Linked DNA regions of Homo sapiens: regions 2, 3, 4 and 5 are each linked to region 1. The links are contacts of gene promoters, found by promoter capture Hi-C in blood cells and fetal thymus (Javierre and others, 2016). All regions are on one chromosome and are shown on one strand. The core of a region is centred on a gene start or on the middle of the fragment in contact, and the rest is flanking DNA. Distances in the headings are between cores, read along the strand shown.

Region 1 (2,679 bases), core at 64-2,563:
TGCAGAAGAAAGGAAGAAAACCAGAGCTTAAAGGCGTTTAGAAAGGAAATAGCCCTGTTAGTTTTTCGGTTTTGACTCAAGCTGTCGTCGATAGCAGCTTGCACCTAGCACAAAGCCAGCTGCAGAAGTATTTTGTTGCAGGGTAGGCTACACCTACACAGGGTCTGTGCCTGAGCATCAAAAGACAGTGCAGGTGTGTGTGGGTCCGGGTGTGCGTGTGCGTACGTGATGTACGTGTGTGCGTGTGGGTACGTGTGTGTGTAGCCCAACAAATAAGCCCAAGAGGCGCATCAAGATTAGAAAGAAGTCCGCACACCAGCGCTTGCCTTGGAAATTTCCTAAAGCGCTGAGAGTTGGTTGGTAAATCACTAGTATCCGAAAACTGTCTTATCAGAGGCTCCTTCCCCGGTGCCCTACTCGCCCCCTAAAACAGGTGTCGCTGTGTCCCTTGAAGCGGCCTTTGGCCCGCTGGGGCATCGCAGGTGGGTAAAATTCAGAGGACATTCGGTGTTTATTTCTGGGGCCCCACGTGTGCAAACCAAACCCCCGGGGCCTGGGCGTGTGCGCGCGCTCGCGTGCCTTGTGTGCGGGCGGGCATGGGGGCGCTCGGCGCGGCTGGCGGGCGTGCGCGCGCGCGTTTGTGTGTGTGTGTGTGTGTGTGTGTGTGTGTGCTCGTGCGGGGGGCCGGGCTGCGTGCTCACGCGCTCCAGGCTGCGCCCAGAGCTCAGCTGCTGGGTTGGAGAAAAAGAGGGTAGGCAAGCGCAGGGGGCGGGCGGCCGAGGAGCGCTTTCGAATTAATCGAGCTAGCTTAGCTGTTTTTCCCTCTCCCGCTCCTTTAAACCCCCCTGCATCGTAGAGAGCGGGCTGGATTCTCTGTGGTGCTGATGGAGGAGGGGGAGCAGGTTGAAACAATCGAGTGGGCGCGCCAGGACTCCCCAGCTCCTGGCGGGGAAGGGAGGGGGAGCCCCTGTTCTGCGCAGGGAGGCGGCGGGGCTGGGGGGCCCCCGGAACGAGGAAGAGGCAGGGGTGACCGCTAGAATAGGAAAGTGCTCACCCCCGGGAGGCAAAATTTCGTTCAGATCGCACATTAATTGGAGATATCTGATTAATTCCAGCTTCTGATGACTATAAATGGCGATTCTCTACCAAGGTGTCTATATTAAAAAAAAAATCATTCCGTGTCATCCCCCACGTCAGGCCTGCTCGTGGGCGTGAGGCTGTACTTCCTCCGCCCCCTTCTAATGGAGTGAACCATTCCCAGCTCTCCCCCCCCCCTCAGCCTCTCTCTCTCTCTCTCTTTCTCTCTCTCTCTCTCTTTCTGTCTCTTCCTCGCTCCCTCTCTTTCTCTCCTCCCTCTGCCTTCCCAGTGCATAAAGTCTCTGTCGCTCCCGGAACTTGTTGGCAATGCCTATTTTTTGGCTTTCCCCCGCGTTCTCTAAACTAACTATTTAAAGGTCTGCGGTCGCAAATGGTTTGACTAAACGTAGGATGGGACTTAAGTTGAACGGCAGATATATTTCACTGATCCTCGCGGTGCAAATAGGTAAGTGGCCGCTCAGCCCGGCTGGAGGCTGGAGGCGGGAGGCAGCCTGCCCCGGCCCGAGGCGCGGAGGGGGACTAGCGGGTCCGCGGCCGCCCCAGGGTGCGGAGAAGCCGGCAATCCCCCGAGGGTGGGGGCATCAGTTCCTGGGGACTAGCGCGTCCCAGATCGGTTTTTCCTAAAGCTATAGATTCCAAATGTTCGCCAGGAAATGTGTGCGGCCGGACATTTTCTGGACACGGTTTTTTTCCCCCTTTTTCCTGAGCACACATCCATTTTTGTTTCCCTTTCTGGGTTTATACCAGGTTTGGTGCGCTCTGGGGCAATGTACTGGCCCCTGCGATACTGCAAGATATGATTTTGAAGAGTCGAAATGTGAATGCAGGAATAAAATGGCTAGGCAGCCAGGACTGGAAAGTTTATGTGCTGAAAGCAAAGATATTCCAGGGCTCAGACTGCTGCATTTAGAACTTTGTCATTCTCCCGCCCCTCCTCCCCCCTATATCCTAGCTGCAGCGTTTGCACGGGCACCGCAGACCCGGCTGGTGGGCAAATCGAGAGTGATAGGGAACTTCAGACCACATATTTTAACATGCTTACCATTGAAGAGGATGAATTCAGCCAAATTTACGTAGATATACTTTTCTAGATGCATTTGCCTGCTACTTTACACATTGGTGTCTGCATTTTATATATAGGAAAGGGTTAAGAAGTGTTTGGAATATGTCATGTCGGGTGTTTGTTATTTTTGTTTGTTTGGGATTGGTTATGGAAGGAATTATTTAGTCCCCATTTTATGTTAAGGAATGTTGAGTTGTAGTTACGCTGTCAGGGGTCTTTTTAAAGTTCACATTTTTACCATCCAGAATGAAGAAAAGATATAGAAGAGGGCACTAGAAAACCCCCTTCTCCGACACTGGGTCAGAACATTAATTAACGTGGCCTAAAAGTGAAAGTGAAGCAGGTTATTAATAGAATGGACAACACGGGGGAAAAAAGAAACTCCTGAAACGGAATTGTTACCTCCTATCAGTTCAGGCTGTGGCATTCTTTGCAGACAAATCCTTGCAGTATTGGGGGAGGGGGTGCTTTAGGTAATTGGTTTGGGGCAAGAAAGGAGAATGCATAATATGTTTTTT
Region 2 (2,679 bases), core at 57-2,556, 580 kb before region 1:
TTAAGGTGCTAGAAGATTCAGTGTCTGGTGAGGGGCCTCTGGTTCACAAATGGTGCCTTCTGGCTGTGCCCTCACATGGTGGAAGGGGCGAAGGGTTTCTCTTAGGCCTCTTTTATAAAGGCACTAATCCCATGTATGAGAGCTCCATTCTTATGACCTAATCACCTCCCAAAGGCCTTTCCTCCTAATACCATCACCTTGAGGCTTAGGATTTCAACATATGAGTTTGGGCAGGGCCACAAACATTGGCTTTATTGCAGAAACAGTGTCATCTGAAGACAGGGGTACAGATTCTTGAGAATCAAAAGACCTGGAAATGAAAGGAATCATAATTCAGGGATCGCACTAGCATTTAGAAATATTCCAAATGGACCAATCAGGAACCTTGTGATCATGGTGACCCTAGGACATTGGTCTTCAGGCTAGAGTGGTCTTCAGGGCATCAGCGTCAGCTGGGGGGCTTGTTAACATGCAGATTGCTGGACCCCACCCCAGAGTTTCTGCTCCTGTGTGTCTGGTGAGGCCTGAGAACCTGTGTTTCTAACATGTTCCCAGGTGATGCCAGTGTTGTTGATCTGGGGCCACATTCTGAGGACCTCTGGTTTAGCTTACAGAATTTGATCATTTGCAGAATGTACAATTAAAAAAAATCTTCTTAATAAAATGTTTTGTTTTATGACAGATGGCATTTTATATAACACATATATAACATACCCATATAGGATTAAGAGTAAGCCACATTCTCTAAGGAATTCTACTTACTAGTTCTGCCTACTGAAAATGGGATTTGATTGAAATCATTAGTTATGGCCGTCTAGTTCAGAAATCAACCCATAATGATGTCTGGAGTTCTTTAACTAGAACCTTTATAAAGACAGCCAGAGTGTTCTTTGAGAATGTCCTATTCCCTAATTATAGAATAAAATTAGAATCGGTTTATGGTAGTTATTTAAAATATGGTTATGTCTACGTAATGGTAACCAAACACACACATACTGTCAGGCTTTGATGCTGACTTCTAATCTCTTAGCAGGCTGTAGCTGAAGAAGCTGTGCTCTGGTCTCATTCAGATTTCTTTTCTACTTTTTGGACAATCCTCCTCTTCTTCCATGTCTCACACTGCTCTCCTTCATATATATATATATATAATTTTATTTTATTTTTTTGAGACGAAGTCTCACTCTGTCACCCAGGCTGGAGTGCAGTGGCATGATTTCAGCTCACTGCAACCTCTGCCTCCCGGGTTCAAGTGATTCTCCTGCCTCAGCCTCCCAAGCAGCTGGGATTATAGACGTGTACCACCATGTCCAGCTAATTTTTGTATTTTTAGTAGAGACAGGGTTTTGCCGTGTTGGCCAGGCTAGTCTTGAACTCCTGACCTCAGGTGATTCACCCACCTCAGCCTCCCAAAGTGCTGGGATTACAGACGTGAGCCACTGCACCCACCCTTGCTTTCCTTTCATAGAGGTCTTCTTGAGGACGGTGCCTTTCTTTTCTTGCAGAGTAAAAATATTCTTATCAAGATGACCATCCCTAAAGCCGTTCTTAAGGAGAAAATGTTTGTTTGAGGAGAGACTTAAAGAATCAAATGTGAGACTCTGGGGGCAGGAGTCCAGCTATGTATGTAAGCAAGTAAGGGTGAAGCTGTGCCACAAGAGAAAATACAATACTCCAGGGAGTGAGGGGAGAAAAAAGAAAGGCCTGGAGGGGAGAGAGGAGAGGAGAGGAGGAGAGAAGGGGAGAGGAGAGATAAGCAGGTGATTGGCTGCTGTGGAGTGGAGGGAAGCAGCCTGCCAGCAGGTGGGACAAGCAAAGGTCCCTTAGGAACAGATTCTGCATTGCTTCCTGTGCAGTGTGCAATGTGACAGCCCTCTCCACTCTGTGACCCACAAAAGGTCAGGGAAAGGGGGTTTGGGCCAATGTAACCTACATTACATGTGCCAGTAGATGGCAGACAGTCCTAACTAGTCTTGACGCTACACAGTGATGATGTAGCACTCTGTCTCCAGTGGCAAATGTACCTTCCTCATCATTTGTATCCGACTGTGGGTGCTCTCCTCTCATTTCCCTCAGATCTTTATTATATTAGGCAAAAATTTCCCTTTGCATAGCGCTGCTACTTTGGTTTTTTCTCTGTGGCCTGTCTGAGTTTCTGCCACACTGCAGTGGGAAGAGACAGGTTTGATCACATCCTGCCTTTGTCTTCTAGATCAGGGGGTCCCTAACCCCTGGGCCACAGACCAGTACTGGTCCATGACCTCTTACAAACTGGGCAGCACAGCAGGAGGTGAGCGAGGCTTCATCTCTATAGCTGCTCCCCATTGCTCGCATTACCGCCTGAGCTCTGCCTCCTGTCAGATCAGCAGTGGCATTAGATTCTCATAAGAAAGCAAACCCTATTGTGAACTGTGCATGCGAGAGATCTAGGTTGCACACTCCTTATGAGAATCTAATGCCTGATGATCTGTCACTGTCCCCCATCACCCCCAGATGGGACCATCTAGTTGCAGGAAAACAAGCTCAGCCCTCCCATTCATTCTGTATTATGGTGAGTTGTATAATTCTTTCATTATATATTATAATGTAATAATAGAAATAAAGTGCACAATAAATGTAATGCACTTGAATCATTCCAAAACTACCCACTATCCACCCTTCTATCCATGGAAAAATTGTCTT
Region 3 (2,679 bases), core at 127-2,626, 560 kb after region 1:
CCCGCCCCCACGCCCGGCTAATTTTTTTGTATTTCTTTTAGTAGAGACGGGGTTTCACCATGTTAGCCAGGATGGTCTTGATCTCCTGACCTCGTGATCTGCCTGCCTCGGCCTCCCCAAGTGCTGGGATTACAGGCGTGAGCCACCGCACCTGGCCACAAAATTTTTAAAGAGTATCTTACTGTAGTTTGTCCCTGCTTCCCCAGAAAACACTTCCTTCAGCCTCCTAGGTTACTGTCAATCCCAGCAGCCAATGGATGGGCATGTCCCCATGTGTCCTTCTTGGGACAGGATCCATAGAAGAAATCTTTTCATGAAGGGATTCTCTGGTCAAAGAAGTCTGGAAAATACGGCACACTCCCTCCCTCAAACAGAGCTACTTCTTCCGAGCTTGGAGACACTCTCCAGTAAAGAAAACTCAAACTTTTTCAGACCATCATTTGCCATACTTAGGTGACTATCAAGTCTTTATTTCTGAGAATCACCCAGTAATATCCAATTCTTGAATTATACCAATTAAGAATCACAATTTTAAAACCTGGCATAAATTTTGCCTAGTGATGACATTGCCTCATTTTGTTCACGGACATAACAACATGGCCATTTCATGAAGACATTGCTTCCAGCCTAAAATACAGGAATGAACCTTGAAAAAAAATGATATAAGAAAAATAACTTAGCAGATTGTGTTTATCCCCACAGTACCATAAATAATTCCTAAACTTCTAAATTGCCTTTTTGCAGGGGAGAAAATAAAACTGAGCCACTGAGAGCACATCACTACCTGCCTGCAAAGCTGCAGTGATCCCATGAAGCAAGAGTTTCATAAATAGTTTAAATAAAATCCAATTATATGAGCATCCTCTTTTTCTCTCTTTTTTTTTAAAGGTCTCTAAGAATTTCTTTAAGAGGAAGAAAAACCCTGATTAACCAACCATATACACCCAAGTCCTGCTGCTAGGCAATTTTCTATGTGGTGCTATACAACAAAACACAATCCTCTATGGGTTTTATTAAGAAACTCTAGGCTGTTGAAGATTTGAGAGTTAAAATGAAATCTGAAAATTATATAATTTAGGCCCCTCATCTTACAGATGAAGAAACTGAGACCCACAGGACTTGCCCAAGATCTCCAGCCCAGCTGGTGGCCAGGCCTGACTGGAGCCAGGTCTTCACTCTGAGGCCAATGTGCTTCCCACTGCCCATCCTTGGAAACTGGGAATTGTACTGAGCAGCTGAGGGCAGAAAGAGCCACGAGCAAGCTTCAAAAATTAGGTCAGTTCCCCCCCGCCCCATTTTACTGTTTCCATGAGCCTGAAGAAAGAATAACGAACATTGGGATGAGGAGTGGGGGGTCCACCCACCCACACAGCCATCCATCTAATTTATATATGGATATTGAGTGTCTTCTATGTGCTAGGCATTGTTCTAGGAACTGGGAATACCATAGTGATCAAAACCAAAAAAATTCCCTGCCCTAATGAAGCTTACATTCCACTGATTCCAGAGTCTTCGACCTGAGACTAATTAAATTCAGACACCTGGCACTAAGATTTTTTCCTCTCTCTCTCTCTCTCTCTCTTTTTTTTTTTTTTTTTTTTTTTTTTTGAGACAGAGTCACGCCTTGTCACCCAGGCTGGAGTGCAATGGCGCAATCTCGGCTCACTGCAACCTCTGCCTCCCGGATTCAAGCGATTCTCCTGCCTCAGCCTCCCAAGTAGCTGGGATTACAGGCACCTGACACCATGCCCAGCTAATTTTTGTATTTTTAGTAGAGACGGGGCTTCACCATGTTGGTCAGGCTGGTCGCGAACTCCTGACCTTGTGATCCGCCCACATTGGCCTCCCAAAGTGCTCGGATTACAGGCTTGAGCCATTGCACCCAGCCTGCGCTAAAATTTTAAAAAGATTATATTGCGAACATATGCACGTGCGTGCATGCACACATACACACACACACACACACACACACACACACACACGAGGATCTTCCATATATCAGTGGCTTTTCAAAAACCTCCCATGTAGAGGACATTCCCACCACCAATCCCTGTCTGGTTTTCAGAACCACCACCACAGCCCACTAAAATACTGAGAAACTATTTCAGTGGCTTCTCTGCAGAGGGAGGGAAGTAAAAAAGTCAAGTTCTTTCCAAATATCCTTCCTGCTAAGTTAGAAAGGGAGGTGAAGAGGAAATACTTGAGAGAAATAAATGAGCTGAATTTTCTGTGAAATGATTTTGGAAGAGAGACTCTTAAGCATTCTATGAGCCCTCGGTAAGCTGAAAAAGAATATGACAACTACAATGTATGTTTTATCAGCCAGCTACAGCTGATCAACAAATCACTACAAAATCTCAGTGGCATGCAACAACCACCACCTGTCTGCGGGGCTGGGGCTCAGCTGGTCCAGACTGGCTGGGCTCCAGGCCCTGAGGTTGGTTCGGGTCCACTCCACATGCTTCTTACTGTTCTGGAACCAGCAAGCTACACAGGGCATGTTCACCTCATAATGGCAGAAGCTAAAAAGGGCAAAAAAACAACTGCCAAGTACATTTCAAGCCTCTTTTCCTGTCACATCTGCTAATTTCCCTTTAGCCAAAGCAGTTACAGGGGCAAGCTCCAAATCAACAGGGCAGAGAAGTATATTCTTCTCATAGCAGACAGTGCTTCAAAGTC
Region 4 (2,679 bases), core at 123-2,622, 520 kb before region 1:
GAGCTAGCCTCCCTGCTGAACAGGGGCGTTAATTTTTCATGGACTTACACTGTGATGAGGAGCATAAAAAGAAAGAGAGCTTTAGAAAAATAGTACTGAAACAAAATAAAAGAAGTCCTTCTCCGGTTTACACAGCAAATGGAGACTGTTATTGATATTTTGCTTGTTAGCAGACACGGAAGTTAAATACAGAGCAATTTAATGCAATTAACTCTTTGATGTAAATTTCCTGGGAAAGGAAGAAAGATTTTGCCAAGTCTAGCCCATTTAGAATCAGACTAGATTCTACTTGGAGGCTGCAAATATCACATTTTCACTCTGACAAGCAATTCTGCTTGGTAAAAGAGTGGCTTGACCCAGGGTAGGTGCCTATAATGACCCCAGGTAAGTCACTGGCCATGTGAACCTCTGATTCTCCTCCTGTTAAATAAGGGAATCTTAAAAGCTTTCTCTGATTATAGAGTTATCCAAATCTACATCAAAAAGTTTTATCATATAGAACAGTATTTTTTACATTAAATCTGGATTTGCTGCTGTTTTCATAGAAACAATACTAATATTCACTTTCTTCTTTCTGCTTCTTGATATTTTATCTTACCTAAAAAACTGTGATTTTTTTCCCCTGTGTTTCTTAATAGTTACATACCTAAAGTCAGCATGTTGTCCCAAATAACTTCTCAGTCTGTCAAGAACTATTTAATGTCAATTATCTAGAACTTGATCTGCAAATATATAAAAGTCAAAGCCACACTGGTTCTTTTTGCCATCTGGTTTGCCTTTCATTTTTTGGAGCATGGGAACACCAAGTTGAAGTGATTAGGCTCCTCAGTTCATGATAAGTGATCATCACTGGTCATGGCACTGAGGTAGGGAGCTTCTAAGGTGGCCCCCAGTGATCCCCACTTCCTGGTTCTCATTCCCCCATGTAATACTCTTCCCTTAAGTGTGGGCTGGACCTAGTGACTTGCTTCTAATAAATTGAATACAGCAAACATGAGACCGTGGCTTCCAACTTGTACATACTATCTCCTGCTCTGTCACTTGCTCTGAGGAATCAAGCTGCTGTGCTGTGGGCTGCCCTATAAAGAGACTCATATGGCAAGGAACCAACGGCCATGAAGAACTCAGGCCCTTAGTCCAACAGCCCACAAGGAACTAAATCCTGTGGCTAATAACCATGTTGGTGAGCTTAACAATGGATCCTCAGACTGTCATCTGAACTTTCAGATGAGACTGCAGCCCAACCCTTGACTGGAGTCATCTGAGAGACCATGAGTCAGAAGCATCTAGCTAAGCCATGCCTGGATTCCTAACCCATACAAACTTTGAGATAATAAACATTTATTGTTGTAAAGCTACTACAGGCCAGGTGTGGTGGCACATGCCTGTAATTTAGCACTTTGGGAGGTCAAGGTGGCAGGAACACTTGAAGCCAGGAGTTCAAGATCTGCCTAGGCAATGAAGAGAGACCCCAATTCTGCCAAAATGCTACTACTTTTTAGGATAATTCATTATGTAGCAACAACTGGTATAAGTACTCAGATTTTTAATTAATTATTTTTCTTTTTCATGCCCCAATCCTGCCAACGTTCTTGTATCCTACTTAAGCACATGCTGTAATGTTTTTAATACTTTTCCTTAAATATATATGAATGGTTGGAAAATTTGTAATGTTGTCTTGTGTTTACATTCTTTAAGTAAATGGAACTGTGTTTTATATTTTATTCTATGTTTTAACTTTTATTACTTCACTCCATGTTTTTGAGATTTATTCAAATTTCTTATCTAGATATAGCTTACTACTTTTGATTATTGCCTAACATTTCATCATTGGCATTTTAATCATCCATGTTCCAAGTGGCGGACACTTAGGTAACCTCCGGGTACTTGCTGTCAGAAAACAATATTGTAATGAGCACAATCACATCTGTCCTCTTACGGATGTGCCTGTTCATATCTAGGAGTTGAGATTAATGGGAAAATGAGTTGAGATTCATGGATAATTATGAATGCTTTTAGCATTTCTACTTAAATTGGCTTAAATAGTAAGAACCTAAATTGTCTCATGTAACAACAAGCGTTCTAGAGGAAGCATTAGCAGCTCAGTGGTGTAACCAAAGACTCGGGTCAATTTCATCTTTCTGCTCTACCGTCCTCTGTAAGTCAGTGTTATTTTTCCCACTGGCCACAAGATGATTGTAGCAGCTGTGAACATCACACACAGGCATGATCACAGCCAGTGTAGAAGAAGAGGGTTATAGCTTCCCATGCATCTCTTTTTATTACAGAGGAAAGCTTTTGCCAGAAGTCCATTAGTGGATGTTTTCTTTGGTCCCATTGACTAGCATTTTATATATATTATAAAAGAGACTGTGGAAGCAAGTGTGTGGAATTAAAGGACTCCATAGTGGGAGGCACCCTTTACTAACAAGGAAAAATCAGAGAAGCCTGTTTAGAAGTTTCTATTACATAATGTATATACTATTTATAGCCATTAAATACTGACTGAAAGCTATATTAGTGTATCAGTCAGTCGTTGTCAAAAGAACGCTGTGAAATAAACTTACACAGAACTAAATGACTTAAAACACAGCAATTTATTATCAGTGATACATCCGTGGGTCAGTTGGGTGTTTAGGCAGGCTTGGCTCTGGGTCAGGGGTCAGCTGGATGTTTAGG
Region 5 (2,679 bases), core at 57-2,556, 510 kb after region 1:
AAAACATAGAATTTTACTTTTTAAAACCAAACCTGACTCAAACAAGTAGTCACTGACTATTTAAACTCTGAGTATATACCCTACATTTTAAACCATCCTCACAAAGCCTACTTGACACCACAAAAAAAAAAAAAGAAAAAAAAAAGGAGGAAACAGAAAACAAGAGCTAGAGAAAAACAACGTAAGGAGTATTGAAAGGCCCCAATAGTGGCCCAAGATGAACTTCTGACAGGAACTCCAATAATTCTTGCTGCTGAAATAGCGCTGGCACTCACTGTCATTGTATCACATGACACTGTCCACTGTGTCTTTAAACCAAACTGGTATTTTCATAATATAGAGGGGTATGCCATTAACACAAGAGACAAAATAAAAGCAAATGACAGTAAAATATTTGTGCAGCATGTTGTACTTTATAAAGTCATTGAACTGTCATTACATCTGTAGTGCTTTATGAGAAAAACATAAATAATTTGTTAAACGTTTGTGAGCACCTACTATGTAAGAGACCTTCATTCATTCCGGGTGCTTTCTGTGCATCATGTCTTTCAATCCTCAAAACAACTCCGTGAATAGCTAATACTACTGCTCCCATTTTATAAATGAGGAAACAGTCTAAGAGCCATCAAGTCACCTGTCCAATGTCGCAGAGCTAGTTGGCAATACAGCTAGAAGTTAGATCTCCAGTCCCAGCTTGGTGGTCCGGGGTAGACATAAGGTCCCCTATAGAGACTGCGACTTTGACTTTCCATTCCTCTTGGAGGTCGATACACTGCAGTCTTCATCTAGCCACACATCAAAAGACATTTGTTCTATCAATGTTTTGTCAGACCCTTCTTTCATTTAAAGCAGTATTTCTTAAGTGTTGCTCTGCACTGAGCACTGTACTAAGAGACATGTGATCCCTACCTTCTAGAATGTTAAATTCTAAGTGGAGAAAAGAGGAATAAATGAGAATGAAAAGCAACTGTCCAACAGTTAAGTAATGAGAGAGCAACATAGTGCAATATGTGGCTCATTTCTTTCTTTTTCTTTTTTTTTTTTTTTTTTTGAGACACAGTCTCCCTCTTGTCACCCAGGCTGGAGTGCAATGGCATGATCTCGGCTCACTACAACCTCCACCTTCCAGGTTCAAGCAATTCTCCTGCCTCAGCCTCCCAAGTAGCTGGGATTACAGGCACCGGCCAATAAGCGGCTCATTCCTAAATAAGTACACAGAATACAGGGCCATAGCAGAAAAAATCAATCCAAAGGAAAAAAATGTGTAGATGCCTCTGTGAGCCATGGAGACCATATTACAGGAAAAGCAGAGGCAAACATCAGCTCCAGCCCGCAAGGGCATGCTTATAACATTGGAAACCCTAAAGTGGTGGGTGGCAGGGCAGGAGCAAGGTCTGCAGAGTGTAAGGCTATATACACTCTAGCCACTCTGCAAATTCCATAAACAAAAGATTGCAGGGAAAGCCGGGCACAGTGGTGCATCTCCACATCAGCCTCTGCAACTGGGACTCCCTGGAATATGAGATTCTCAGCTTACTCATTTTCATATATTCACTGCCAATACTAGGCCCAGAACATGGTAGGGGCTCGATAAATACTTGTTGAATACAAAATAAAGTTCATAGAAAATATGCCAACTGCCAACATTGGCATTTACAGACCTAGTACAATGCTTAATACATAGCAGATACTCAATAAATATTTGCTGACATGATTATATTGCTGGTAGAATTTTAAATCTGTACTTAAGATAAAGCTGTGAAGAAATGCCCATTTAAATAAAACCAGCAATAAATAGTAATATTTTATCAATGTTTACATAATACATTTTACTTTTTCAGAGTTTATCCTTTAACTCATCTCTTGAGCTAGAAAAGTCGAATATACACTATCTTAATAAATCAGTCCTGTATTGAGTTATCTTAAGTGCTGTAGAAAGATCTCACTTCTTTCTGTAAGGCTGTTTTGTAATATATACACAAATTAGAATTATGTTTTTAAAGAAAAGCGTTCAAATATGACAATATACTATCTGTGTTTTCACCATTCAAAGTGTTGTTTGGTAGTTGAAACTTAAACTACTACTACTTTATTAAAAGTCATTTAATTAAGTGACCAAAATGTGTTGTGCTCTTTATTGCATTTTCACAGCTTTAAAATCTATGCACATACCGTTTCATAGAAAATGAGTAGTTTTTATTGACCTAGATAACGGTAGTTCTTTTGCACATTTAGTGATCTAATATTGGGGAGGTCAAGAAGTTTGGTTACTGAATTTGTTAGATACTAAGTCCTGTAAAAGGAGATCTCTAACCTCAAAAAGAATGTACATACCAGGAAAAAAAAAAAATCTTTACAATAGCACCGTGAGGTAGGTGTTATGAAAATTCTGCTAATTTGACTGGATATGATTTTCATGGAATTCATTGTGCTTTATACTTACATGTGAGGTGTCACAAGAGTGGCAGTAGCCTGTGATATCTGGTGAGTACAGAAGCAGTGGGTGTTAAAGGGACTAGCGAGAAAGAGGGTAAGATTACAATGGAAACAAAAATTAGCAATGACTATAAAATATGAACATGTAAGAAAATGACGAATGTGCTATGGCATATGCAGAAGAAGAAACGCTCATATCTTTCGGGGAAGGACTCCTGCAGCATGGGGAAGCACTGTGTTTAT

What was found. The method cuts DNA at HindIII sites, captures the fragments that hold promoters and counts their contacts. A CHiCAGO score of 5 or more calls a contact.
Region 2: a fragment that was not itself captured here is called in contact with the fragment with the promoter of NRN1 in region 1 in 1 of 17 cell types (total B cells); the score reaches 5.1 in total B cells.
Region 3: a fragment that was not itself captured here is called in contact with the fragment with the promoter of NRN1 in region 1 in 2 of 17 cell types (naive B cells and total B cells); the score reaches 6.6 in naive B cells.
Region 4: a contact is called between a fragment that was not itself captured here and the fragment with the promoter of NRN1 in region 1, in 2 of 17 cell types (naive B cells and megakaryocytes). The highest score is 5.2, in naive B cells.
Region 5: a contact is called between a fragment that was not itself captured here and the fragment with the promoter of NRN1 in region 1, in 3 of 17 cell types (total B cells, naive B cells and M0 macrophages). The highest score is 5.9, in total B cells.

The regions. Positions count from the first base shown.
Region 1 is chr6:6,005,559-6,008,237 of GRCh38, reverse strand. NRN1 (neuritin 1) reads left to right here and starts at 1,313. Exons shown (of 3, transcript NM_016588.3): 1 at 1,313-1,543. The coding sequence starts at 1,489. The HindIII fragment of the contact is 16,379 bases long and covers 1-2,679 here.
Region 2 is chr6:6,584,141-6,586,819 of GRCh38, reverse strand. The region is part of intron 1 of LY86-AS1 (LY86 antisense RNA 1); the gene reads left to right. Among named protein-coding and RNA genes, the nearest start is that of LY86, 3.2 kb to the left of the region's middle. RefSeq lists an enhancer at 1,628-1,737. The HindIII fragment of the contact is 3,216 bases long and covers 1-2,679 here.
Region 3 is chr6:5,443,396-5,446,074 of GRCh38, reverse strand. All of the region lies in intron 4 of FARS2 (phenylalanyl-tRNA synthetase 2, mitochondrial), which reads right to left. Among named protein-coding and RNA genes, the nearest start is that of FARS2-AS1, 13 kb to the left of the region's middle. The HindIII fragment of the contact is 224 bases long and covers 1,265-1,488 here.
Region 4 is chr6:6,528,585-6,531,263 of GRCh38, reverse strand. The region is part of intron 3 of LY86-AS1 (LY86 antisense RNA 1); the gene reads left to right. Among named protein-coding and RNA genes, the nearest start is that of LY86, 59 kb to the left of the region's middle. The HindIII fragment of the contact is 1,850 bases long and covers 448-2,297 here.
Region 5 is chr6:5,491,582-5,494,260 of GRCh38, reverse strand. The region is part of intron 4 of FARS2 (phenylalanyl-tRNA synthetase 2, mitochondrial); the gene reads right to left. Among named protein-coding and RNA genes, the nearest start is that of FARS2-AS1, 35 kb to the right of the region's middle. The HindIII fragment of the contact is 3,900 bases long and covers 1-2,679 here.